7 separate regions of the Homo sapiens genome follow, and all the other regions are linked to region 6. Evidence: promoter capture Hi-C in 16 types of primary human blood cells and fetal thymus (Javierre and others, 2016). All regions are on one chromosome and are shown on one strand. The core of a region is centred on a gene start or on the middle of the fragment in contact, and the rest is flanking DNA. Distances in the headings are between cores, read along the strand shown.

Region 1 (4,082 bases), core at 775-3,274, 490 kb before region 6:
CCATTCATCTGCTCGTAGATACTTGGGTTGTTTCTACCTTTTGGCTATTTTGAACAAAGCTGCTACGGACATTGGTATTTGAGCATCTGCTTCAGTCCTTGTTTTCAATTTCTTTAGGTATATGCCTAGGAGCAGAATTGCTGGTTATATGGTAATTCTATGTTTAACTTTTTCAGGAATCATCAAACTGTTTTCCACAGTGCTACACCATTTTACATTTCCACCAGCAATGTATAAGCGTTCTAATTTCTCCACATCCTCGCCAACACCTTTTATTTCCTATTTTTTAAAAATATTATAACCATCCTAATACAAAACATCCTAGTACAAAGTCAGGTTGACTTGCACTTCCCTAATGACTAATGATGTTGAACATCTTTTGATGTGTTTATTGGGCATTTGTATATTTCCCTTGGAGACATGTCTATCACATCATTTGCTCATTTTCAGTTACTGAGTTTTCAGTGCACAGGTCTTGTGCCTCCTTGATTAAATTGATTCCTAAGTATTTTATTCTTTTTGGTGCTACTGTAAATAGGATTCTGACCATATTTAGAAGCCTTTGTCTTTCAAAAGGGGGGATTGGAATCATTCACATTTACTATTATAACTGATGAGTTTGATCTTATAGTGTTCTTTCCTTTTTATTTATTTAACAATTCTATGGGTTGGAACTCAGCACTGTACAAAACAAACTCCATTCTTGCTCTGCTAAATGGAGTTTGTTTTTTTTTTTGTAATACATAGTAGTATATTTTGTAATATAAAATATGTTATATTTAAATATTGTATATCATGTAAATAAAATTTATATCAATATTTTTATTGATATAAAATAATAGATTTTATCACTACAACTAGGAAGTTAGGAATGAAGTAAGAAAAACTATGATAAACTTATACTATGTAGGGGATACATATTCTTGATGTAAAAAATAAAGAGAAAATAGTACTTTACACCAGTATAAAATCAAAATATGTTAAAAATCAGATTTATATAATATTTTATATCAAATTTATATCATATTTATTATTTTTATAATATATATGAATTTTATGTTATATTATATATATATTATATATATACTTATGAAACCTTCCCCCTGTGCTTTGTACCGTACTTGCAATAGCCTTTTCCTATCTTTGCTTGAACATCATCAAGCCCTAGTTCTTAAACTTTTTTGGTCTCAAGAATTCTTTTCACTCTTAAACATTTTTGTTATTGTTATTGTTATTATTATTATTATTATTTTTTGAGACAGAGTTTCGCTCTTGTTGCCCAGGCTGGGGTGCAGTGGCACCATCTCGGCTCACTGCAACCTCCGCCTCCCGGGTTCAAGTGATTCTCCTGCCTCAGCCTCCCGAGTAGCTGGGATTACAGGCATGCGCCACCACACCTGGCTAATTTTGTATTTTTTAGTAGAGACAGGGTTTCTCCATGTTGGCCAGGCTGGTCTTGAACTCCCGACCTCAGGTGTTCTGCCCGCCTCAGCCTCCCAAAGTGCTGGGATTACAGGCATGAGCCACAGCGCCCGGCCACTTTAAGAAGTATTAAGGACCTCAAAGTGATTTTACCAATGGAGTTTATATCTGTTAATATTTATTATATTAGAAAGAAAAACTGAGGCATTAAAATACATGTATTAATTCACTTTAACGTAATAATGCTAGTTTCCCAAAAGAGAGACAGAAAGCTTGCTAGCTCTTGTTTCTCTCACCCCTCTTTTGTTTTATGGACCAAGTGGTTTCGCCCTTCTGATTATCTTTTAAAATTTGATTATATATATATATATAGATATAGATATAGATATATATAGATATAGATATATAGATTTTATACTGGTGTGAAGTACCATTTTCTCCTTATTTTTTATGTCAAGAATATGTGTCCCCTACATATGATAAGTTTATGATGGTTTTTCTTACTTCATCTCTAACTTCCTAGCTGAAGTGATAAAATCTATTTTTTATATCAAGTTTCTTCTTCTTTTCATATTACATGAATTATCTTTCAAGAATTAGTCCTGCTTTGATATTTTATTTCCATATTAAATAAAACAGTTTTAGTGACCCCATTTAACTAGTTTTGTGCCTCATTAATATTTCTTTGATACAACACCATTTGGAATTTTGATTTCTTCTTCAAAAAGAAAAACTCCCACAGCTTTGTGGGAGTTTTTCTTTTTGTAGGCAGTATATCTAACTGGTGTATGTTTGGGGTTCCTTCTTATTTAAGACGATGCATCTGTGCCTTGCAGATGAATGGCAGCTTGGCCGAGTACAGAAATTTTATTGTACAATATTTCCTCTCAAACACTAACTTCTACTACTTAGTGTTACAGAACGGAAGCTTGGTGCTAAGATGAATTTCTTCTTTTTTGTTATTTCTGGAGAGTGGCAGTATTTTTTTATATTTGGATGGCATAATTTTCTTCCATGTAGGGCCGGGGCCCATTGTTGTTAATCTTGATTTGTCTAGTAAGCCTTCAAGGATCAACTTAGTATTTTTCTTTATAGCCTGAGAAATTGTCTTCCATTATGTGCTAATTAATGCTTCTATTCATTCTGCTTTCTTTTATTTTTTCTGGAATTTCTATATTATATCCCTGTGTGTTTGTGTGTAGTGTGTTTGTGTGTATATATGTGTCATTTCAAGTCTGGTCCTTGATGAATTCTGGAGAATTCAATCTTGTCTTCATTATCCCTTTGGTGTTTTTTTTTTTTTTTTCCGGGGGTTGGGGGCAGGCTCCAATCTACCAGTCATCACTCCTTTTCCGACTCCCATGTGTTTCATTCAAATCTCAACTTTTCTGATATCAGATCATTAAATCTTATAAATGCCTCATATAGTTCCATCGATTCTATGTTACAAACACATATGAGAGATTTTTAAAGATTGTCCCCTGTTTATTGGAGGAAGCTGTTGTGCAGATGAATATTTCTCTGATCTCTTGGGTTGGTTTCTTTTATCTTCAATTTCTTTATCTTGCCTTAGATTTGGTGATATTTTGTTTTGTTTACCATAGGGAAATCTATGTTCATTCACAATGGGAGGTGAGAAAAGGTTGGGCAAGAGGTTGTGTGAAAAGCAGTTTAAATCGTCCAGGCTCAGACAGTCAGAAAAGAGGAATACTGACTCACTCTAGTGACAGAATAGGCTGATGACAAGGGGCAGTTAGTTGTTGCAGTAAAATTTAATATATATCATGTTTTTCCTCTCTGAATTTATCATGGCAACCAAAAATGAGTACACAGTCTTTTTTTTATTATCATACTTTAAATTCTGGGATACATGTGCAGGACGTGCAGGTTTGTTACATAGGTATACACATGTCATGGTGGTTTGCTGCACCATCAACCCATCATCTACATTGGCTATTTCTCCTAATGCTATCCCTCCCCTGGACTCCTACCCTCTGACGGGCCCCACTGTGTGATGTTCCCCTCGGTGTGTCCATGTGTTCTCATTGTTCAACTCCCACTTAGGAATGAGAACATGCGGTGGTTGGTTTTCTGTTCTTGTGTTAGTTTGCTGAGAATGATGGTTTCTAGCTTCATAAATGTCCCTGCAAAGGACATGAACTCATCCTTTTTTATGGCTGCATAGTATTCCATGGTGTATATGTGCCACATTTTCTTTATCCAGTCTATCATTGATGGGCATTTGGGTTGGTTCCAAGTCTTTGCTATTGTGAACAGTGCTGCAATAAACATACGTGTGCATGTGTCTTTATAGAAGGATGATTTATAATCCTTTGGGTATATACTCAGTAATGGGATTGCTGGGTCAAATGGTATTTCTGGTTCTAGATCCTTGAGGAATCACCACACTGTCATCCACAATGGTTGAACGAATTTACACTCCCACCAACAGTGTAAAAGCATTTCTATTTCTCCACATCCTCTCCAGCATCTGTTGTTTCCTGACTTTTTAGTGATTGCCATTCTAACTGGCCCAAGATGGTATCTCAATGTGGTTTTGATTTGCATTTCTCTAATGACCAGTGATGATGAGCTTTTTTTCATGTTTGTTGGCTGCATAAATGTCTTCTTTTGAGAAATGTCTGTTCATATCCTTTGCC
Region 2 (4,019 bases), core at 918-3,417, 340 kb before region 6:
ATAGAAAGTAGCTTCATGGCATGGGTAGTGCTGAAGATTGCTGGTGAAAGATGAGAGAGACTATTCAACAAATAATTTGGGGACAATTCATTACATATAATGGAATAATAAAATCAATCCAAACCTCATACATATTAATTCTATTCCCAATGGATGATGGCTTAAACATGAAAGGTAAGACATTAAAAAATGTAGAAGAACCTATATATGAGAGTACTTTTATGACCTTGGGGTAAGGAAATATTTCTTATAATAGACATGAAAATGCAAATGATAAAGGAAAAGTTTGATGGATTCAAGTATATTAACACTAAAAACTTCATTTGTTAAAATATATTATTACAAGAGCACAACCACATGACTTACATAAGACATAAGTCATCTGCAATACATATAACTAAAAAGGAGACTGTTATGTAGAACATGTGAAGAACTGCTACATACCCATAGGAACGATATACCAATTAAAATGGGTAAAAGAATGGAATTCTATTTTCAGTAATGTTATGTCCTAGGTTAACTGGATGAATTATTCCACTGAAAACAACCCTAAGTGCTGAAATACGTGTGTGTGTGTGTGTGTGTGTATGTGTGTGTGTGTGTGTGTTTAGATCGATCTATCTATCCTATCTGTCCATCCATCCTGCCTATCTATCTATATATCTATCTATCTATCATCTATCTAGATATCCCTATAAATATATATAATCAGAATGTATAAGAGAAATTATTAGGGCAACATAAAAGAGAAAGTGGAAATCTACTAGGTCATTTTAGGGGTGTGGGAGAATTTGAGCTTTGATTCTTGTAGAATTTCGGGCCACTAGAAACAGAAATCAAAGCTCACCAGGATGGCTGAAATTAAACAATCAGATAATAAAAAGTGCTGATGAGGATGTAGTGAAACTGGAACCCTTGTACACTGCTGGCAGGAATATCAAATGGTGCAGGTACTTTGGAAAGCAATCTGGTAGTTTCTCAAATGATTAAACCCAGCAATTCCTCTCCTAGGTAAATACCCAATAGAAATGAAAGCATATGTTCACACAAAAACTTGTACATGAATGTTCATAGCAGCATTATTCATAACAGTCAAAAGGTAGAGATGACTCAAATGTCAATCAACGGATTGATGGATAAACAAAGTGTGTACATCCACATAACGGAAAAAACCATAAGATGGAATGATGTACTGATATGTTACAACTTGGATGAGGCATGAAAACATTATGCTAACTGGAGGAAGCCAATAACAAAAGTCCACACATTATATGATTCCATTCACGTGAAAGTCTGCAACAGGAAAATCTATAGAGACAGGAAATAGATCAGTGATTGCTTAGCAGCGGAGGGGAGTATAAAGGGAGGATGGATAATAGGGAGTGGATAGAGGATGACACTAAAAGAGTATTCTTCAGGTGATGAAAATGTTCTAAAATGGACTCTAGTAATGACTAAATGTATTTGTAAATATACTAAAAGTCATTGAATTGCATACTTTAAATGGATGAATTGCATGGTATATGAATTATGGTTTAATAAAACTGTATTTAAAAAACCCTAAAGATAAAGAAAACTTGAAAATCAGTAATGGAAAAAGATATGTTATGTAAACAGTAGTAAAAGATATATGTAATTATATCAATTGTTGACAAAAGAAAATTTAAGAACAGTTCACTTAGATGATATAATAATTTTAAGTTTTTCTACATATAATAGTGTATCTTCAAAACATTTAAGACAAATTCAACAGAACTACAAGAAGAAACAGACAAATTTACAATGCAAATTTAAATTCACAGATACATTTTATCTGTTGATAATTGATAGAATAAGTTGATAAAATTAGCAAATAAATTGAAAATTTATACATGATTAACTTGCAAGGCATAGGGAACTTATAGAACACTGCGCCTGATAAATGCAGAAGACATCCTTTTTCAGATACAGAAAGCTAATGTACAAAAATTGATTGCAAGCTAGATCATAGGGCAAGTCTCGAAAAACTTCAAAGATTGAAATCATGTGGAATATGTTCTCTGATCTCTACGCCATTGAGCTAGAAATTAATAATCAATAAATACTTTTTAAAAACTGTATGTTTGAAAATTAAGATAGACATGTCTAACTTATACATAGGGCAGAAAAAAATCATAATAGAAACGAACATATATTAGTGTGTTTTTCAAACTGAGCCATAGGAGAAAAAAACATTAAAATTTATGGGATACAGCTAATGCGGGTTTTAGAAAGAGATATTAGATATATTGTCTTAAGAGGTCAGAAAAAAAAATCCGAAGAAAGGAGATAGTAAAATTAAAACAAAAAATCAGTGACATCAAAAACAGGAGCCAAGTTGGGTTCTTAAAAAATCTAATTAATTTGTCAAATGACCAGTGAGAATGATCAAGAATAAACAGAGGGACAAAAATAAAAGTAATGATGAATATTAGAAAGGTATAAGGGGCCATTACTGCAGATAGATCAAGAAGAGAGGGTATGTTTGCTGTCAACAGCAACCAGAATGCACCAACCAGAAGTCCTTAGCAAAATGTTTCCCAATCTATGATTTATCCTAAGATAGTATCTGTTTCCATGATCAGCTTTGGAACTTCCTAGCTTCTGCTGAATTATAAAGGAGATTGATATCAAGCCATTCTAAACCATCTCTAGTCCTCCTGCCTTACAGCAGAATTCTATTTATGCACAAGTTACCCTTAGACCATAGGTTGTGGATGAGATCCTTGCTCCAGCACAAAGCAATTGCCATTGTGTAAATGGGGCTACCACATCTGCAAGTTGTGGTTCTCAGTGTTGATGAGCTATTGTCTGAACCTCCTGGGGTATTGCCAAGAACACATAGCAAGTGTAGGGGCATGGTAGAGACCATGCAGGTGGCTGCAAGAGAAGAGAATCACTCTCCATGAGACTTAATTTTTCCCAATTCAAGTATTTTAAAAATCAGTTATGGTTTCCTGTCATGACACTAATATGGAGTTTTAAAACAGTTGCAATGTTTTGCAATCTAATAAACTTACATTACTTAGAGTTTGGGTATCTTGAATACAACATAAAAGTCATATGTAAAAAAACAAAATGAATCCTAGAGATTTCCTGGAAAAAAATCTGGCCAGTTATCCAAAAAGAAGAGGAACTGCTTCCTTTAGGGGGTTTCCGCACTGGCCTGGGGTGTGTGGGATGTTGGGCCCTCAAAATAGTGAAAGAAGTTCATTTAGGAGTCAAATAAGAAGGAATATTCTTTCCCCTTTGCAAAGCAGAATTAATGTAGTATCAGAATGAGTAGAATCAGTGTCTAGATTCCGGCTAAGATAATTCTTTCCCCTTCCAAACCACTTGACTATCTTCGCTGAAAACCAGCACCTTCTACAGTAAGCAGTAAGCTGCCTCGGAATACTTCTGTCACATAATGCTAATCAATGAGCAGTCCACAAAAATGGTCAAACATCTGTGTGACCTGGTCATGTTGCTAGTCGTGATAATGGTGTGGGGTGGTCTGGAGGATGGGGGACAGGGACATTTGCAGGGACTTTCCAAACTGCCTAATGCTTTGCAGGCATTTCATCACCATTTCTGTTTTCATTCCTTCCAGTCAAAGCAGAAAGAGATTTTCCTGCCATTTGGACCTGTCTTCCTGCAAAACTCATGGATTTGCATATCATATTTTACTGTATTTTACTTATTTCAGATTTTGTGTTTATGAGGTACTGAAACAAAGGCTTGACCCCTCACAGTTTTAAGGGATGCAGAATACCCTTTGGGAACAGAGATGGATTGCTGTCATCGGGTCATCCTATGTCTGCCTCCAGAGGTGGCCGTGATACTGAAGAACAGTGAGGGGCCAGTAAGTAGTGGAAGAGGGTGTCCTTTCACACTCCTTCCAGAATTCCCTACCTTTTCTTAATAGCCCTTTTGTTTACCTTGGAGTTTATCCAAATCTTCATTTAAACAAATATCTTTGGCTTCAAGAAGACACAGGATTGGTCATGTCTCATCATCTT
Region 3 (3,646 bases), core at 467-2,966, 360 kb before region 6:
ATTGATGTTTTTTGAACGAGCAGTTATATGCCTCCACGAAGAAGCCATAACTTTCACCTTTTCCCTTGTTTCCTTCTTCCACCCTCATCATTACATGTTCACACTGTTTGTCCTTCAGGAGGGTACAAAACGTGGTCTGCACAGAAAGGCAAGACCCCAACCTCCCAACCCAGCTTTCTTTTCATACTCACCACTTACACAGGTTGGTAGTCGTGTCGGCCCCCACATATTATTTGCTTGACACCAAACAGACTTGTTTCCGTTCATGGAGAAGTTGGTTTTACAGGCAAATGTCACAGAATCACCATGTCTGTAGGGTGTAGAGCCTCTAATTTTGTATCCTCCTGGTACTATGGGCTCAGGGCAAGAAGAATATTTATTGAAATATTCACATTTAGGAGCAGGTTTATCCCAGGTTCCATCCACTTTGTCTTTAGTTATGCATAATAGACTTTTTTCTCCAATGAGGCGGAAGGTACCTGAACAACTGTACCTTATCACGGTACCAACAGCAATGGGGGTAGAATAATAACTAATCCGGCCATTTAGGATAGGCGGAGGAGAGCCACAAGAAATCCCTGAAAAGTAGAAAAGGAACTTGGTAGGCATACTGATCATGGTGAGAAAATATTCAAATGTAGGTAAAATATCCAAATATAGATCACATAACTTTTTCAGAAACAGACTTAGAAATATGTATAGTTTATTTATTCCCTGCTTACTCCCAAACTCCTAAATTCTTACCTTTTTCTTGATCCTCAGCAAACAGATCAACATAAATCATCTTGACCAAACAATAATAATGAAAAGAATATATCCAAAAGTTCTGAGTCTAATCAATTTTAATAATGAAACAAAAGGCAAATTCAGCACATGAAAATAACATATTAGTGGCATGATAGTTACATGTGGGGAGGTACCATGGATTAGGGAAATTTGAGCTCAGTGGACCTAGTTTCAACTCCCCACGGTCATTCAATAGCTGTGTGACCTCAGGCAAGTCTTACTCTCTTTAAGCTTCAGTTTCTTAGTCTATAGTATAACGCAAACTACTTCATAAGGTATAGTGAGAATCCAGTGCTAAAAGTACATGAACAGAGAAAGTACAATACCTGGAACATACTAATTATTCAATGGCTGCTTCAAACACACAACTGGGGGTACAGGCTGAGATGACCACTTTTGGTCCTGCTGCTGAAGATGCTAGAGCCTCAGTACAGGTGATTTGTCCTGACTTGAGGCTGGAACACTTTGAAAAAGCCACAGGAAGTGAACAGAGGTTTTGAATAATGGCCTCATATTCTTCATTTACTTGTCCTAATAACCATGAAGGATATTGTTTACATTTACTTTGTTATGCACGCCTTTTCTGAGGGAGTCTCAGAATAAAGGGAAAATTGCCAACCTCTAGAACTTTCAGTTAACTTCCCTTTGGCTCCAAGAGGAGGTCTTCAGTGAAAACTGACATAAGAAGATACAGCCAAACTGTTTCATCACATCAGTGCTATACTTGGTTTCAGTAAGGGTAACTTTCGAGAACTGTTGTCTTTATACATATAGAATCTGCAGTATAATATATACTCAACTGAATCAATTTAACATCTTTGGTCTGCATTCCAGAAGACAGAGAAGAGTGGCATATATATGTTCAAAGCACACCTATGGATAAGATGTGATAATTATATATATATATATGTATGAAAAAATCTCTAATCATTGACTTTGGTGCTATCTGCTTTTTTAAAAAAGCATCTTTTAATTTCCCCTACAATAACACAGATCTAGCACTGCCCCAAAATACAAAAGAAGAAAAAGTCCTACATCTGCAACATTTAGATATTACTTTCAAAGTTTACTTTTAAACTCTTTAACTAGGCAGGGTGTGGTGGTTCACGTCTGTAATCCCAGCACTTTGGGAGGCTGAGGCAGGTGGATCACCTGAGGTCAGGAGTTCAAGACCAGCCTGGTCAACATGGTGAAACCCCATCTCTACAAAAATACAAAAATTAGCCAGGCATGATGTTGGATGCCTGTAATCCCAGCTACTCGGGAGGCTGAGACAGGAGAATCGCTTGAACCCAGGAGGTGGAGGTTGCAGTGAGCCAAGATCACGCCATTGCACTCCAGCCTGGGCGACTGAGCGAGACTCCATCTCAAAAAAACAAAAACAGAAACACAAAACAAACAATAACAATAAAAAACTCTTTAACTAGAAAACTCAACCACATATACTATCTTCCTTCTGCTCTTTCCATAGGTACCATATATCTATTTCCCAGAAAAACCTTGTTTTATTTCTAGATCCTGAAGTTTCAGCCCAACTCACCCCTGAAGCACTTTGGCAGTAGAGGATTCTGTTTGCTGTTTAGTTGACACCATATTACATTGCTGCCTTTCAGGGTAAAACCAAGCTTACACTTAAATATCATGTATCATTTTAAAAAAATGAACATAATCCAGATTCCACAACTCCATTTTCAACTTCTATAATTGAGCATTCAAGTAAGAGTAATACACTGAAGAGGAGGGTTGCTCCAGAGCTCCAGACATCAACTTGATTATCTTTGCTGGTGCAATGCATTGACTTCTCATCCAAGAGGTCAAACAGCTTTTCCCTATTACATCCAATATGGCACTGATGATTTCATAGCAAACCCCTCTCCCTGCTGCTGCTGTCAAAGTCCCATGGGGGATGGCTGGGAGTGACTTACAAGGAATACCTTTTTAAGGAGTAGGTGGGGAAAGAGAGAATATTATACTTTCTGAGAATTTTCTCTTCATTCTTGCAATCCAAACTGCAACTCAGCCTACAATTTACCTATTTTGTTGAAATTCTGTATCCTGATCTCAAAGATGATTCTAAATAGGAAGTAGCAAGGTCAAAAGATATATGGAACTGGCTGATAAAAACCGAAAAGCTATGAGCTGGTCACCAGTCCCCGCCCCAGACCACAGATAAATTGTTATAGAAGGGACCTAGGGTGGCTTACTTTTTGCATGGAATAAAGTTGGCAGTGTGTAATCTCCTGGAATGTTTTAGATGTAAGCATTTACTCACTATGAAATAACTTATAATCAAAGGACAGTAAACAAAGGAACGTGTGGTAGGATTGGGGGCCATGAGGAAGATGGGTAAGTCATAGCTGTGTGCCTAGAGCTACTCAAACCAAGTGTAAACCCTCCTGGCTACTCACTTTGGTGTGCAGATGCTCAATTTCCCTCTGGAAGGGGACAAGAGGAATTAAATAGGGTGCAATAAAGAGATTGTTTTACTTACATTCATTAAAAGGCATGTCATTATCCCAGGTTACAATATTGTCTGAGATAATACATGTAGCAGATGAGTCACCAAAGAGTAGATATCTAAAGACAAAGAGATAAGAAATCTCGCGGCACACGTTTACCCTGTAACAAAACTGCACATCCTGCACATGTACCCCAGAACTTAAAATAAAAATAAAAATAAAGAGTGATCATCTCCCAGCTAGACTTACATTTTAGAAAAACTTAGTTCTTTCTCTACTGAAAGAATAGCAGAGAATAGAATATCATTTATGACAAGCAGGGGTGACAGATTAAGGACTCATACAATTTAAAGCCAAATGAAATTCAAGCTCCTGGTCAGTAGCACTGGAGACTTAAAACT
Region 4 (3,665 bases), core at 812-3,311, 460 kb before region 6:
GTAGAAACTTTACAACTTTAATGAAGTAGCAAAACATTTGAAGAAGAAAAATAACCATTTTGAAGGGTTATTTATTCATTTAGTCAATATATATTAATTGAGCACTTATCCTGTGTCAGCCCTTCATCAGGATCCTGGGGACACAGCGCTGAGGAAGGAGCCTACATTCTTAGGAAATATTTCTCAAATGTATATATGTGTGCTAATCATCTTAAATAGGTGAAACCTTTCACTGATTACTTATTGATATTGATCATCAATCTCAGTGATAACAATAGCCCTGTCACAGTGAATTGAAACATAGTCAGGCCATGATAAAAAAAAAAAAAAAACTCCAAATGGATTCAGATGGCTTTGCTTTTGAAAATGTCTAGGTCTGTTGATGATTTATTTTCTCTTTTTACTCTCTGGGTCAGGTTTCAAGTTGTTACTCCTTTCTAGCATCTAATGATTTGTTTAGAACAGTCTCTTCCTCATTTCTAATTGGCATTTTTCATTAGAACTGGCATTTGGAAGAAACTATTTTAACTAGCAAGAGTTATGAAAAATAAGAGAAAGCTTGAGTAGTCCAGTTAATGAGCTTTCATTCATGATAGTAGAACAGACACTTGTCATACTGCTTCAAGGAGCACTGGATTTCTTAGACAGCAAGAATCTCTATATAAGTTATGTTCTTCCAAAATTTTACTCTAAAAATCACTGTAAGATGTCCAAGTATATTTCTAACAACATAAACATTTTAGTAAAATTTCATGATTTTCTAAAGAAACACGTTTTCCAATCATTAGAATCAAGAATTGAAGCAAAGTTCTATCTTCCATTGGGGAAATTATACATGGGTAGACTAGGAGAAATCAGTAGTCTACTGATTATTGAACATATGAGGCTCATTTTAAAAAAATGACTTATTATTTATGAATCTCTCAGCATAAATTATTTAGGTACATGTTTTGAGAATTTAAGGAGTCTCAAACTGCTCACCCTGTCTAATGTTGCTCCCCATTTTTGCCTCATTCCTCAGTGCTTTGCTCTATTGTCTCATAGCATTGAATTTATTTTTTTTCTTGTCCCTCTCCCCACCTAAGTAGAAACAACATGGGGACAGGGAATTCATCCATCTTGTTCATTGATATAACTCCAGTGGCTAGATGAACATCAGGCACAAAGTATGTGATCAATAAATATTGATTAAATAAAGCCATGTTCAATATTTGTGTATTATCATATATATATAAATTGTAGACTGACTGCACTTTGATGGGAGAACAAAATGAAAAAGAAAGAAGGGAGGAAGGAAAGAAGAAAGGGGAGAAGGAGAGAAGAAGGGAAGAAAGAACTGAAGGATGGAAGGAAGAGAAAAAAGAAAGAAAAAACTAGAGAAAGAAAGAAAATTGTTAAAGCTTCACATTATCTAATCTCTCCTGACCTAGGAGCACAAGACCAAAGGATTTATCGCACTAGAACAGAGAATGCAGAAGGACAGAGACAGATCAGATGGTTGCAAAGACAGGTGATGTACATATTGATTCACAACCAAACATTATTAAAATAAACTATTTTTAAATCGATAATTAAGACTAGAATATTGAAGAATCACATTGAGGGAGGCCATAGGACAAATAGTGAACAGATGAAGGGGAGAGATTGGCCTGAAATGTTGCTCCTATTACTCACGTTCACACACTGGAACACTGCTATTCCAAAGGCTTTCCATTCCAGCCAAGACACAATAACTAGCAGAGCTGCCTTTTAATTGAAATCTAAAGAAGAAAATAGGAGTGAATAGTGAGCTGTTTCAGCCAAGAGGACACTTAGTTCACAATCTAAGGCCCAGCCCCAATTTCAGGATTTTGAGGATCTGAGGCCAGCAGATGGCAGAGTTGCACAGGCTACCTTATTCTGGAAAAATCACAGCCTCCAGAAGGGAACAATATAGAATGGCAAAATGTAGTAGCTTGGTCACATGATAGTCCTGCTTGAATTGAAAAAGGTGGTCATGACATAGGCGCCATCCCCTTGACCCAGGACCCAGGCTTGGAGTTTCACTGATTACTCCATGATAACCTGATAAATCACTCATTGTTGTTATTAGAAACCCAGTCTTCTAATGTAATGCCTTCCTAACTCTGACCCTGGAACAGCAAGTAAAACAGCTCCCAGTTTGGAGTGGAAAAGTGGGAAATAGCTGGCGAGAGAACAGAGATTGTCCTTTCATCTCCACATCTGTGATGGCGTGAAGAAGGCTCAAAAGGGCAGTTTGGGCTGCTGAAGAGTAAGCATGAATATTCTAGGGGAAAAAGGAAAGAAGAGAGGACATGATTTTTGTATGCAATTGTCGAAAATTCTCAGTCTTTTGGACCCTGATGCCCTCCTAACTCTTACTGGGTGCTGGCATTTGGAGGCTGCCAAGATTCTGTGTTACATTATGGGATCAGGTGCTTTGTTGCCCATGCCGGTCAGCTCCTGTGTAGAGATGTGCACGCTGTGAAGAGCACTAGATGGACATAAACAAGGTAATGACCTTGCTGGGAATATTAACAGCAGCCATCACGACCCCAGCTCAGAGCCCAGAGCCCATGACTAGCCAGAAGATATATGACTGAATTTTTAAAAAAATGCTGATTTTTACATTTTCAGTCCTATTACAAATTTCACTGTTGATGGTTTAAAGAATTTACTGAAATGATTCTTAAAGGATCCTAGCTTTTAATAATAAGCTTTTCATTACTTGCAATTTTTCCTGGGACTCTCTAAATTACTCATATTCCCTTTTGCTTGTAAAATATGATTTTTTTCCTGAGATGGAGTTTCACTCATTGTTCACGCTGGAGTGCAATGGTGCCATCTCGGCTCACTGCAAACTCCACCTCCCAGGTTCAAGTGATTCTGGTGCCTCAGCCTCCGGAGTAGCTGGGATTACAGGCACATGCCACCAAACCCAGCTAACTTTTGTATTTTTAGTAGAGACAGGGTTTCACCATGTTGTCCAGGCTGGTCTCCAACTCCTGACCTCAGGTGATCTGCCTGCCTCAACCTCCCAAAGGTGCTGGGATTACACACGTGAGCCACCGTGCCTGGCTGATATTTTTTGCTTAATGTGTTACCTATATATTCATAACCACTAGTTATACTTGCCTTTGAACTTGCCAGTTAATATATGTTCCAGTTTCCTCTTCATATCTCATGTTATTAGTTCTATATGTTTCTTTCCTTTCTTCCTAGGTATACTTTCGAAAGTTCATCTCTCTGAAGGTGTGTGTGTGTGTGTGTGTCTTTCTTTTAAGCCACACCAAATCTCCCCTTTTTAGACTGATTCCCAACCCCAATTTCAATGTCCAGCAGGTCAGGCAAGCTCATACTCACCCTTCATCACAAACAAAATCCACTTTTGCTCCAAGCTGGAGATTTACTGGAAATAGCACACGGCCATTAAGAAGTTGGCCCATGAAGTCATCACAGGATTTCACTGGAGATAAAGAAAAACGAACAGAAATCACTGGCATGTGGAGAATAAAGACGCAAGCTAAAAATATCAAGCCAGATAAGAGTCTAGTCACCTTCACATGTGGGGGCTGCAGGGCTCCAGTCTCCCTGGGGTGTGCAGCGCATAGACGCAGCCCCTCTGAGGTCATAGCCGGGCTCACAGCTGTAGAACACTTCCTGCC
Region 5 (3,729 bases), core at 346-2,845, 420 kb before region 6:
CCCTAAATACATTTTAAAGTATAGCAGTAGTACATAGTATACTGTGTTGCTATAAACTAGAACAAAATTTCTTCAACCCAAATCCCAAAACACTTGAAATTAAAACTGAGTGAATTTAATTGGATAAATTTAGAAATGAATGAATTAAAATTAAAAATAAAAATTTTTCAGGCTCTGCTTCTACTAATAGTAATCTCAACAGTTCAAATAAAATATTGCTCCAACCATCCACCCTCAAGAAAGGCTAGAAATACTGGAGAATTAAAAATATTTATCTGTTAAAGCATCAGAAAGCTAACAAACTAGTGAAGCATTCCTGGGCCATGATCTAGGAGAAGATGAGAATCCAGTTGAGAGCTGGGTATTTGGGCTTGGCAACTGGGCTGCTTATTGTTTGGGAATGGGCAGCTGAATCAGGACGGGGCAACTGAGAGGCTGAACAGACTTTTGATTTTCTCATGAAGTTAAGGGACAACAATGGAAGTCCAGGGCCTGCCCCAAATGGAAGGCCTGGTAATACCTTCTGATGTGTTCTGAGGCCACAAGAACTAGGCCCTGGTAATCAGGGTTAACTGAAAATAAATTTGCTGTCTCAGAGACTGGAACTAGTACTTCAAGTACTGGTACTGTGGGTGGCCCTGGAAAATCACAGTTCCTGAGACTGAATTAGAGTGGTCCTAGATTGCTAATGTCCCCAGATGCCTGCAGAAACAATGACAAAAATTCCATCTGGAAGAAGATGGGTTATCTAAGGCCTTGAAATTATTTCTACAGACACAGTTTTCAAATAGAATTCCTGATACACAATCAAAGATAACCAGATATTTGGAGAGATAAAATAACACACACAATTACTGATGACAGAAACTGACCCATTAGAACTACAGACCTGTTCAAGGGTATAATTGAAACTTGTAAGAACTAGAAACTATTAAAAAGAACAGGGTGGGATGTGGTGGCTCACGCCTGTAATTCTAACGCTATGGGAGGCTGAGGAGAGTGGATCGTTTGAGCTCAGGAGTTTGAGACCAGCCTGGGCAACATGGCGAAACCCTGTCTCGACAAAAAAAAAAAAGTATATATACATATATATATATATATATATTATCCAGATGTGTAGGTGTGGTGGTGCACACCTGCATTCCCAGCTACTCAGGTGGCTGAGGTGGGAGAATTGCTTGAGCCTGTGAAGGTTGAGGCTGCAGTGAGCTATGATTATGCTACTGTGCTCCAACCTGGGCAACAAAGTGAGACCCTGTCTCAAAAAAAAAAAAAAAAAAAAAAAAAAGGAAGAGGGCAGATTTGGAAAATAAAAAGTCTAGAATTGTAAAAGTAAAATATGATTGCTGAAATTAAGAATTTGTGTGAGATTAATAGCAGGTTAGACTCTGAAAGAAAATCAATGAACCGGAAGCTAGGACAGAAGAAAATACTCAAAACCAAGCACCAATATATAAAAAGATTAAAAAATACAGACTAAATACATAGAAGAATAAAGCCTAGCATGTTTAACTGAAGTCCCTCGATGAGAAGAGAGAGAGAACTGAGCATAAACAACATTTGAAGAATTAATAACTGAGAATTTTCCAAGACTGATGCAAGACATCATTAAATTACAGGTTCAAAAGGCTATACAGGCCTGGCACGGTGGCTCATGCCTGTAATCCCAGCAGTTTGGGAGGCCGAGGTGGGCAGATCACCTCTTGTCAGGAGTTTGAGACCAGCCTGGTCAACATGGTGAAAACCCATCTCTACTAAAAGGGTAAAAATTAGCCAGGCATGGAGGCACAGGCCTGTAATTGCAGCTACTTGGAAGGCTGAAGTGGGAGGATAACTTGAACCCCGGAGGCGGAGGTTGCAGTGAGCCGAGATATCCCACCACTGCACTCCAGCCCAGGTGATAAGAGTGAAATTCTGTCAAAAAAAAAAAAAAAAAAAAAAAAACAACCAAAAAAAAAAAAATGTGCAAACCCAAGCAATACAAAGAAATTCTTACCTAGACACAACACAATAATATTGTAAAAAATCTGTTTTAAAGTGTAATCCATTTTAAAAGCAGCCAGGAAACATGGACAATAACCTTCAGAGGAACCACACTTAGAAAAATGTTTAAAGAATTTGTTGTCAGAAGCTCTACAATACAAAAATGCCAAAGAGACTTTTTCAGGCTGAAGGAAAATAGTTTCATATAGAATTGACAGAATTGCAATAAGAAGGAAACACACCAGAAAGAGCTCATATGCGGGTATGTTTTCATTTAGGATCTTTATGATAGAGAAAACCTCTTCAGTCATTACAAGAAACACAAGATGGCAGTAAAGATTTTATTACGGGCTGGGGGTATGGCACGCCTGAAGATCACACAGAGGTTGGTCAGCGCGAGGAGACAGACAGAGAGAAGGGGACCCATCAGCCAATGCCTTTATTGGGGACCAGAGTATGACCCAGCATCTTGCATCTACAAGCCAAGGTATCTCCCATGGGGAGTTCTAATTGGTGAGTTTAAAGAAAGCAGGCACATGTTCCAGGCAGTCGTGCTGCGACTGAGAGGTGGTCACGGCAGCATATCTGCGAAGTCCATGCAGGGCACAGAGGTCAGGGACGCTAGTCAAGTAGGTTTTATCTAGCTGTCCCATAGAGAGGTGGTCACCAGGAGGCAGTTGTATAAGGCAGATATCTGGCTCGACCACGTTGCAAAATTGGGAGGAGGTACAGAACTAGAAAGGGCATTAAGGGTGACTAAGCCCTGCTTCTGGCATGAGAAAGCTAAACATATTCTAAATGGATGCTGAGGCAACATAAAAATTCTAAGAATTCACTAAGGTGTAAATATAAATAAATACTGTTTTTATAAAGACAACAGTGTCTTTGAAATATAGAATATATGTAAATCGTTAAATCAAGTTTAGCCTAAAGCCTTACGTAGTTTAAGCTCAGCCTAAAGGTTTCTCTGTAAACTGCAAACTATAACAAGTGAAGATGTAAACAGACCGCAGACTACTCTTACGCCAATCACCGAGTTTTGGCCAATCAAATGTGGCCAACTGTTTGAACTGTTTTCAAATAAGGCAAACGCTGAGCTATAACCAATCGGCTGTTTCTGTACCTCACTTCTGTTTTCTGTACGTCAGTTTCCTTTTTCTGTCGGTAAATCCTCTTCCCCCATTGCAGCTGGGCTGGAGTCTCTGCGCTTACTTTGGCTCGGGAGGCTGCCTGATTTGCGAATCGTTCATTGCTCAATTAAACTCTTTTAAATTTAATTCAGCTGAAGCTTTTCTTTTTGCAAAACGTATGGCAACAATACAAAAAGAGGGGGAGGACATAAATGGAATTAACTATTAATAGTTTCGGTACTTGCGTTGTTTGGAGAGTGGTAAAAGTACAATTTTAGCAGACTATAGTAAATCAAGGATGTCTATCTCTAGAGTAGTCATTTAAGAATAAAAAATGGAATATAACTTAAAAGCTACTGGGGAAATAGAATAATAAAAATACTTGATGAATTAAAAAATGTGAGAAATGAGGAATAAAGGAACAAACACATGAAACAAATACCAAGACTTAGACTTTATATCAGTAACTATATTAAATTTATTTATTTTTAATTTTTATTATTAAATTTTAATGTTCCAAACACACCAATGAACAACTAAGACTGAATAAAACAACAAAACCTTACTATATGATGTTTATAAGAGACAAGCTTTAAATATAAGACAAAGAAGGGCT
Region 6 (3,626 bases), core at 1,095-3,594:
CCAGCTACTCGGGAGGCTGAGGCAGGAGAATGGCCTGTGAACCCGGGAGACGGAGCTTGCAGTGAGCAGAGATTGCACCACCGCACTCCAGTCTGGGCAACAAAGCGAGACTCCGTTTCAAAAAAAAAAAAAAAACTTACACGGAGGAAGGAATAAGACAGAATAAACAATAATAAATCTAAAAGGAATGAAAGTCAATTTAATTTTATCTTTAGAATGAGAATGACTGTCTCACTGAGGACCAAATGAAATAATGTGTGTGAAATGCTTTGTCAGTTTTGAAGAGAGATAATACAGTGACTAGACTTCCCTAACAAACCATCAGGATGCATCCTAACTCTTCTCCAACTACGGCATTTGCAGTTCACCATAACTACTCCTGGTGGTCCCTCAGCAGAAACCAGCTGGCCACAGAGTATGGGAATGGAGGCTAGAACTTGCGAGCTGAGAAGACACAAGTTGGAGTTCCAGCAATACCACAGTCTAAGTCTGTGATCTTGAAGAAGCTATATCAGCTTCTTGGATATCAGTTCCCTCCATCTCTAAAATAATGACATTAAACCTAGATGAACAAATTCTGCAATTCTGTAACTGCTCACTGAAAAGCTGAGACTACTCTAGCCAACTTTCATATTTCAAGGACTTCACCTTTTAAATTCCTGCAGAAATGGAACCAACTCAAGAACTTTAGTCAGCATGGCGGGTCCCTTGTGAAAAATAATATCAGCACTTAGCAATGCAGTGCAATTTGAGAGTCACTGGAAAAATCTTTAGTCCTCAAATTTCTCCTTCCATGAGAAGTTACTTTTTAAGTTAATATTTATTTTGTCTAACTTCCCCCTTTTAAAATGCAGATACCTTGTGAAAGGATAGTATTTTTCTCCAGTCTCGGGCTGAGTGTCTTCTTCCTTATACCTGGGCTCTCAATTATATCACTTACAAACTCCAGAAAGAACTGGCTCCCACACTTTCCCCACCCTTCCTAGAATCTCTTTTTTTTTTCTTTTTTTTTTTTTTTTGAGGTGGAGTTTCACTCTTGTTGCCCAGACTAGAGTGCAATGGCACGATCTCAGCTCACCCCAACCTCTGCCTCCCTGGTTCAAATGATCCTCCTGCCTCAGCCTCCCAAGTAGCTGGGATTACAGACATGTGCCACCATGCCTGGCTAATTTTGTAATTTTAGTAGAGACAGGGGTTCTCCATGTTGGTCAGGCTGGTCTCGAACTCCCGACCTCAGGTGATCCGCCAGCCTCGGCCTCCCAAAGTGCTGGGATTACAGGAGTGAGCCACCGTACCTGGCCAAATCTCTTTATTTTTCTATCAGCCCCTTTATTCTGTGCTCATACTACATTCAAACATATCTCTAAGCTTAATGCCAACCTTCTTTGATGCTTCTGCCTCTTCTGTAGTCTACTTTTTATTCTTTTGGTGTTACCATATTTAGAGATAGAATAGGAATCAGCAAAGAGACAAGTGGTTGAAGAATTAAAATGAGGACCAGAATGGTACTGTATCCTGGCCAACCAAGGAAGAAGAGAATTTCAAGAAGGAAGGGTTATCAGCATCGTCAAATTCAGAAAGTAAAGAAGATGAGGACGACTAAGACTGCTAGCTTCAGAAACCAACTGGAGGCTGGCCAGTGTCCTCCTTATTACCAAATCTAAACATCTTTGCTGTCAGTGGTGGAGGAGATTTGGAGTGGTTAATCAAATCTCAAAATAGAAATGGCCCCAGTTTTCAGAATGTAGACTAAGAAAAGCAAGCTTCCTGTGAACCCTTTGAAAAGTCTGATTGACCCCTTGCCTCAACTCTGATGTGGGAAGGTGGTGAAAGATCAACAAACCAACACATCTGTCTTTTAGATACAGTAACAAGAGCAACACCTTACACCTCTTCTTCTTTAGCTTATTTTATTAGAATGCAATATTATTCCTCCATTTATAATTTTTAAAACTTGAGGTTCAGATAGGGTTTAAAGTACGTCTCAAGTCTTACATCCCCCTAATACAGTGCTCCTGAAAAGATTTCTGCTGAAAACACCTCCAAGCTTTTGTCTCTGTTTTATCCTTCTAATCCTGCACTCCTTAAAGGGCCAAACCACCAGCCTTTCCTCCAAGCTTCCCCAAGGGTTTAGTAGTCCACCGACCTTTGGTAGTTGAGGAAGAGCAGAAGACTCTATGATGATATCTGGGATAGTTTCTCAAAGAAGAAAACTGCCTTGATCTATGTAGTCCTGGTTCCTCCCCAGATCAGAGTTTATCATAATACCCTGAAGTTGACTGGTAATTGCTCCACCAAAGAGTCCCTGAATTTCAGCCATGTGGTTGGCTGGTCAAGGACGGTTGATGGAAATAGATGGGCAGAAACTTTTGACGGGCCCAATGAATGATTAACAGCAGAAATAAAGCAGCACTGTTTACCTAAGCTCCTTCCTCTTTGCTAGTCCTCATTCTTCGTAACATGTCGCAATCGTTTATTTTCTCCTCTGCCAACCATTTCCCCTAAGTGGAAAGGTAATTTGAATTTGAAGCCAGAATTCTTTTTTCTTTTCATAAACACATAAGGGTTATGGCAAGACACAGTCCAGCTAGCCTGGAAACCTTGGATACTGCGAGGTTCAGAGAGCCTCCGCAAAAATGATCCACTTTCCATGACACTAGGTCCAGTATGCTTTCCTGGAGTTTGAAAACTGATATTCTTGCCCAGAGCTCGTCTCTATCCCACCCCAAGGAATTACAAAAGGTGGGGAATTTATCAAACATGCATTGGGTTTCCACTATGTGCTGAGTTATCTAGAACGTATTTGGAGTTCAGCAAATGTTAACTGCTACTACATGTCAGGCACCAGAGGGCCTCCAAAAATTGATCTATCCAGTGCGCTCAGAAGAACGCAATGAAGGACCGGCCATGTTTCCTCTCGCATAGATCTAAAAAGACCACAAGCACTTACATAGTCCAATTAAGCTACTAATCCTCAAGGTTAAGATTTGTGTGCTCAGAAGATTGCTATTAAAAGGCAATTCTTTCTGAGAACTTCACTTTTTCTGTAATAAATACTGAAAGTCCCAGAAGAGTTTCAGAAAAGGAACTAAACTACAACAGGTTGAGTTAATCAAGGAAGTTTCTACAGAAGATGTGAGATTTGGATAAAAGGTAGAAATTATTAGATAAAAGTGGTAAGGATATTAGATGTAAAGAAACCATGCGCTAGGTCACCAAGGTGAGACACTGATTTGACCAGAATGAAGATAGAGGAGGATTCCAGATTGCACAGTCTTGAGACTAAATTGGAAGAAATATCACCTTTAAAGCTGCTATTTCTTTAAAGTACCGTTTTCCAATGTATTGAAGTCCTTTCGTTTACTTTCCACAGTGACTCTTGCAGATTTTTCTCTCCAGGTCACCAAATTGTCACATTCCCTCTCAGCAGATGCTCTTACCTCCTACTTTACTAAAAATCATTCTACCTTAGCTTCATCAATGTCAAATTTTCCCTCCTATTCACTCCTCATTCCGAGGAGAATTGTTTCTTCTTTTCCTGCCTCATTTTCAATGCATCTCTCATCCTGAAATGTCCCTTCAATTTTGCCAATACCTCAAATTCCACCTTTCTTCTTTAGTGTGAT
Region 7 (3,667 bases), core at 168-2,667, 320 kb before region 6:
CTAAATATAAATTGTTACAGTTGCTATCAGTTGAAGACATGTAAATGCAATTTGTGGGAATGGATTTAGAGACAGAATATGCAAACTTATCCCTATTGGATTTATTTATTTTTGACAGTATAAACGCCAATGCCAGGATTAAAAATTATAAGTGTAATTATACTGACTTTGGAGAGTGAGGTTTAAATTTAACATGATTTCAAGCAGATACTTCCAACAAAATACCCCCTTGGTAACACCCTAGACTTTGTCATGTCCTAATATGGCACCACTTCCAAAATCTCTAATTCAGACATCCTGCTGTCTACATACAATCTCCACTGCATTCAGCTTACCTATTTCAGTGTCAAACTGCTTGACCTTCGTTTGACTTCATGAGAACTTTCTGTCGCCTTTCCCCTTATTCTAATCTATTTGCCCACTCTTTCTTCAGTTCCTTCCTTAATCAGTCAAAAGTCTATACCACAAGTTCAACAGCACTCCTGCCAGTAACAAACTCCTTTGCCTGCTTCCTTATGGCAACTGTTTAGAAAATCCCAAACCTCAATCATTGTTACTTTCTGCTTTCCTTACCTAAGCACTGAGATAGAGCCACATGGCAGGTTGCACTGGTGGATAAATTCAGGATAACTAATTTCAAATAGACTCAACCTTGTGTGGCAACCTTACCATTGTTTTCCTCTTTTTAATTCACTTTATCAATGATTACTTTGTATCTTCTTTATACTCCTCACCCTTCCAACCATAACTGACCCTTTTCTGCCTGTCTTCTCACCTCCTTCTTCACTGAGAAGCCGTCGGAGATCTAGTCTCCCAATTTCCTGCTAGCAACTCTAGGAACCTCCATCTGCATTCATCTTTTCTTTTTTCCATTTTCTCTCTTCTCTTATTGAAGGTCAGTTCTTTCACATGAGGTCTTGGATTCTACTCTTTCCTGATTTTTCAGAAACATTTAACTATCAAACAATTCCACTCTTGCCTGTATTTTCAACTGTGTTCTAACATTGGATCATTCCCCGTGACATTTAAAAGAGCTAAAAAAAATCTCAAAAGACTTTCTTCCCCCAACTTCTAACCCTTTCTCCTCACTTTCAGAGCTAAATTTCTTTTTCTTTCTTTCTTTCCTTCTTTCTCTCTTTCTTTCTTTCTTTCTTTCTTTCTTTCTTTCTTTCTTTCTTTCTTTCTTTCTTTCTTTCTTTTTCTTTTTTAACTTTTTGAGACGGAGTCTTGCTCTGTCACCCAGGCTGGAGTGCAGTGGCTTGATCTCAGTTCACTGAAACCTCCACCTCCTGGATTCAAGTGATTCCCCTGCCTCAGCCTCCCAAGTAGCTGAGATTACAGGCACGCACCACCACACCCGGCTAATTTTTTTGTATTTTAGTAGAGATGGGGTTTCACCATGTTGGCCAAGATGGTCTCAATCTCCTGACCTCGTGATCTCCCCACCTCAGCCTCCCAAAGTGCTGGGATTACAGGTGTGAGCAACTGTGCCCAGCCTCAGCCAAATTTCTTAATGTCTTGAAAGAGTTACAGATGGCCTGTCCTTTTCAACACCTTTTACTAATGTTCAACCTACTTTGATTTAGCCTCTGTCTCTCTCATTATGACTAACGATCACCTTCATATTGCCAAAGCCAATGAACATTTTTCAGTTCTTGGTGGAATTTGACATTAACCACTGTTTTCTTCTTGAAACAATTTGTTCTGCTGTCTTCCCCAGATATCATTATCTGCTGGTTATCTGCTTAGCTCTCTGGTCATTCTTCCTCTCTATATACATATATATCTTTTTTTCCAGTTTATCCTCCTCTGTCTGGTGATTAAATGTTGGAGTTTCTCGAGGCTGAATCCTGGGCTCTTTTCACATTCTATTATATCTCCACAGGCAAATGTATCTATTACGTCTATGACTTGAAAAATTCTAAATTGAGCTCACACCTGTCTTCTAAGCCTAAGACCCTGTATACCTTATTTTGCCTCTCCATGTGGATACTTCAGTATCAATATGTCAAACACCAAACTCAGTCCTCCCTGACAGAGCAGGAGCACCATCATCTTGGACAAACACTGCCACTTTAAGTTCCAGCTCTTTTTCTAGCCTCATGCATTTCAAGGAAATCACTTTTCTTCTAACAACAAGTGCCCAGAAAGAGCAGACAGTAAAATACAGATAAGACAGCTGGGGCACAGAGGGAGGTGGTGGGGAAGTCTCTTGGGTAACTGCCAAACTTCACCCTCATACAATGGGCCCCAGTAAAACAGTGGGCCTTAATAAGCACATTCCTTTCCATTTAAGTGCACTAAGGGAAGCTAAAAGCAGACTTGGGAGGAGGGTGGGTATGCCTGCAGCTGCAGGAAGATGTATGGGAACAGACACAAAGCTCTCCCTCCCAGATAAGTGCAACAAAGAAACACAGAAGGAGTACAAGCCTCTGATAAACTCTTCCACCCTGAATCCTTAAAAACTCTTAGTCTCTAAGAAAGTAGGCTCTAACCTAACTCAGCCAGAAGCCCCTCTCATGTTTGTTTTCTCTAAAATAAACCCGTCCTTAACTGTCAAGCCACCTTTCATGTATCTTTCCTCTTTCTTTAATTCTTACACTCCCTCCAAAGTTATTGGTTCCTGCCAATGTTTCTAATCTCATTGAATAGTACCATCATGCATCCAGTCACCTAATTTACAAATCTCAGGTTCATCCATGATATCTCATGCTTTTCATTCTCCAATATCTAATCCATCTTTGAGATCCATCTATTTTTTGTTCAAAATACCTCTTTATCCATACTTCCCATATCTTCTGCCAGCATATTCCAAGCTACCATCTCTATCTTAAAATAATGCACTTTTCTTTTAATTGATGTCCCTTCAATTTTTGTGCCTCCCATTCATATTCATTTTTGACATCACACAGAGAGTGATATCTTCAAAATGCAAATCTCATTTTGTTCTATTTGATAGAATAAATTCCTCCTTGTTATTGAAATCACAAAAAAGTCACCCCCACTCCCCTTGCACACACAATTTTATCTATCCCTGAAGCTTTCAAAATTGTTAAAGGCTTTCCATTGTTTTTAAGCTATGGACCAACATCCTTAATATCCTCAAAGTTCTTGGTTCCAAGAAGCTGCATTGTCGGGCTCTTGATGATCATTGTAGCTCTCCTTATACTATCCTCCTGGGTTTCTCTCTGCCCTAGTCATGCCGTAGGGCTATAATATTCTTTAGAATGAAGAGGTGAACAAGGTCCCTACAGATAGATTAAGACAGACAGAGAATTGATACAACCCAAAGTAGAACAGAAAAGATGTGTTAATAACCACGCCAGGTGAAAAGAAACTGTTTCTGGTGTATTTTATTAACAGGTCAAGAGAAAAATACTTTGAATCAACAGCTGCATTGCAGGTAGAAGGGTACATGCTTATTGGCTCTAATTGGATTCAGGCTTTCATTAAGTTAATGTTAAGCCAATATCATTTTCTGCATTGGCCAAGCAGGTGAGATGAATGAATATGTTGCAGAAATCATAAGTGATGGTTACATTAATTTGTGCAATTTTTCCAGGAAAGTAGTATTGTTTTTGGTTTAGTCTTTTGGTAAGTAGAGGAAGTTCTAAGGGTTTCCATTGTCCTTCCCTACCAGGAAAATAAACTGTGTAGGAAAACAATA

The links. The method cuts DNA at HindIII sites, captures the fragments that hold promoters and counts their contacts. A CHiCAGO score of 5 or more calls a contact.
Region 1: a fragment that was not itself captured here is called in contact with the fragment with the promoter of C4BPA in region 6 in 1 of 17 cell types (erythroblasts); the score reaches 5.3 in erythroblasts.
Region 2: a contact is called between a fragment that was not itself captured here and the fragment with the promoter of C4BPA in region 6, in 16 of 17 cell types (erythroblasts, naive CD4 T cells, neutrophils and 13 more). The highest score is 10.9, in erythroblasts.
Region 3: a contact is called between a fragment that was not itself captured here and the fragment with the promoter of C4BPA in region 6, in 16 of 17 cell types (naive B cells, endothelial precursors, total B cells and 13 more). The highest score is 17.1, in naive B cells.
Region 4: a fragment that was not itself captured here is called in contact with the fragment with the promoter of C4BPA in region 6 in 12 of 17 cell types (erythroblasts, megakaryocytes, M2 macrophages and 9 more); the score reaches 14.0 in erythroblasts.
Region 5: a contact is called between a fragment that was not itself captured here and the fragment with the promoter of C4BPA in region 6, in 14 of 17 cell types (naive B cells, naive CD4 T cells, M2 macrophages and 11 more). The highest score is 9.9, in naive B cells.
Region 7: a contact is called between a fragment that was not itself captured here and the fragment with the promoter of C4BPA in region 6, in 14 of 17 cell types (naive CD8 T cells, endothelial precursors, neutrophils and 11 more). The highest score is 14.3, in naive CD8 T cells.

What each region holds. Positions count from the first base shown.
Region 1 is chr1:207,593,788-207,597,869 of GRCh38, reverse strand. All of the region lies in intron 35 of CR1 (complement C3b/C4b receptor 1 (Knops blood group)), which reads right to left. Among named protein-coding and RNA genes, the nearest start is that of CR1L, 49 kb to the left of the region's middle. The HindIII fragment of the contact is 656 bases long and covers 1,697-2,352 here.
Region 2 is chr1:207,444,196-207,448,214 of GRCh38, reverse strand. No RefSeq gene overlaps it. Among named protein-coding and RNA genes, the nearest start is that of CR2, 8.1 kb to the left of the region's middle. The HindIII fragment of the contact is 7,026 bases long and covers 1-4,019 here.
Region 3 is chr1:207,463,458-207,467,103 of GRCh38, reverse strand. CR2 (complement C3d receptor 2) reads right to left here. Exons shown (of 20, transcript NM_001006658.3): 2 at 192-578. Among named protein-coding and RNA genes, the nearest start is that of CR2, 11 kb to the right of the region's middle. The HindIII fragment of the contact is 1,394 bases long and covers 1,020-2,413 here.
Region 4 is chr1:207,563,933-207,567,597 of GRCh38, reverse strand. CR1 (complement C3b/C4b receptor 1 (Knops blood group)) reads right to left here. Exons shown (of 47, transcript NM_000651.6): 22 at 3,558-3,665; 23 at 3,364-3,466; 24 at 1,675-1,760. Among named protein-coding and RNA genes, the nearest start is that of CR1, 70 kb to the right of the region's middle. The HindIII fragment of the contact is 1,317 bases long and covers 1,403-2,719 here.
Region 5 is chr1:207,519,184-207,522,912 of GRCh38, reverse strand. All of the region lies in intron 4 of CR1 (complement C3b/C4b receptor 1 (Knops blood group)), which reads right to left. Among named protein-coding and RNA genes, the nearest start is that of CR1, 25 kb to the right of the region's middle. The HindIII fragment of the contact is 3,356 bases long and covers 1-3,273 here.
Region 6 is chr1:207,102,951-207,106,576 of GRCh38, reverse strand. C4BPA (complement component 4 binding protein alpha) reads right to left here and starts at 2,344. Exons shown (of 12, transcript NM_000715.4): 1 at 2,147-2,344. The HindIII fragment of the contact is 2,080 bases long and covers 2,120-3,626 here.
Region 7 is chr1:207,426,930-207,430,596 of GRCh38, reverse strand. No RefSeq gene overlaps it. Among named protein-coding and RNA genes, the nearest start is that of CR2, 26 kb to the left of the region's middle. The HindIII fragment of the contact is 3,250 bases long and covers 1-3,042 here.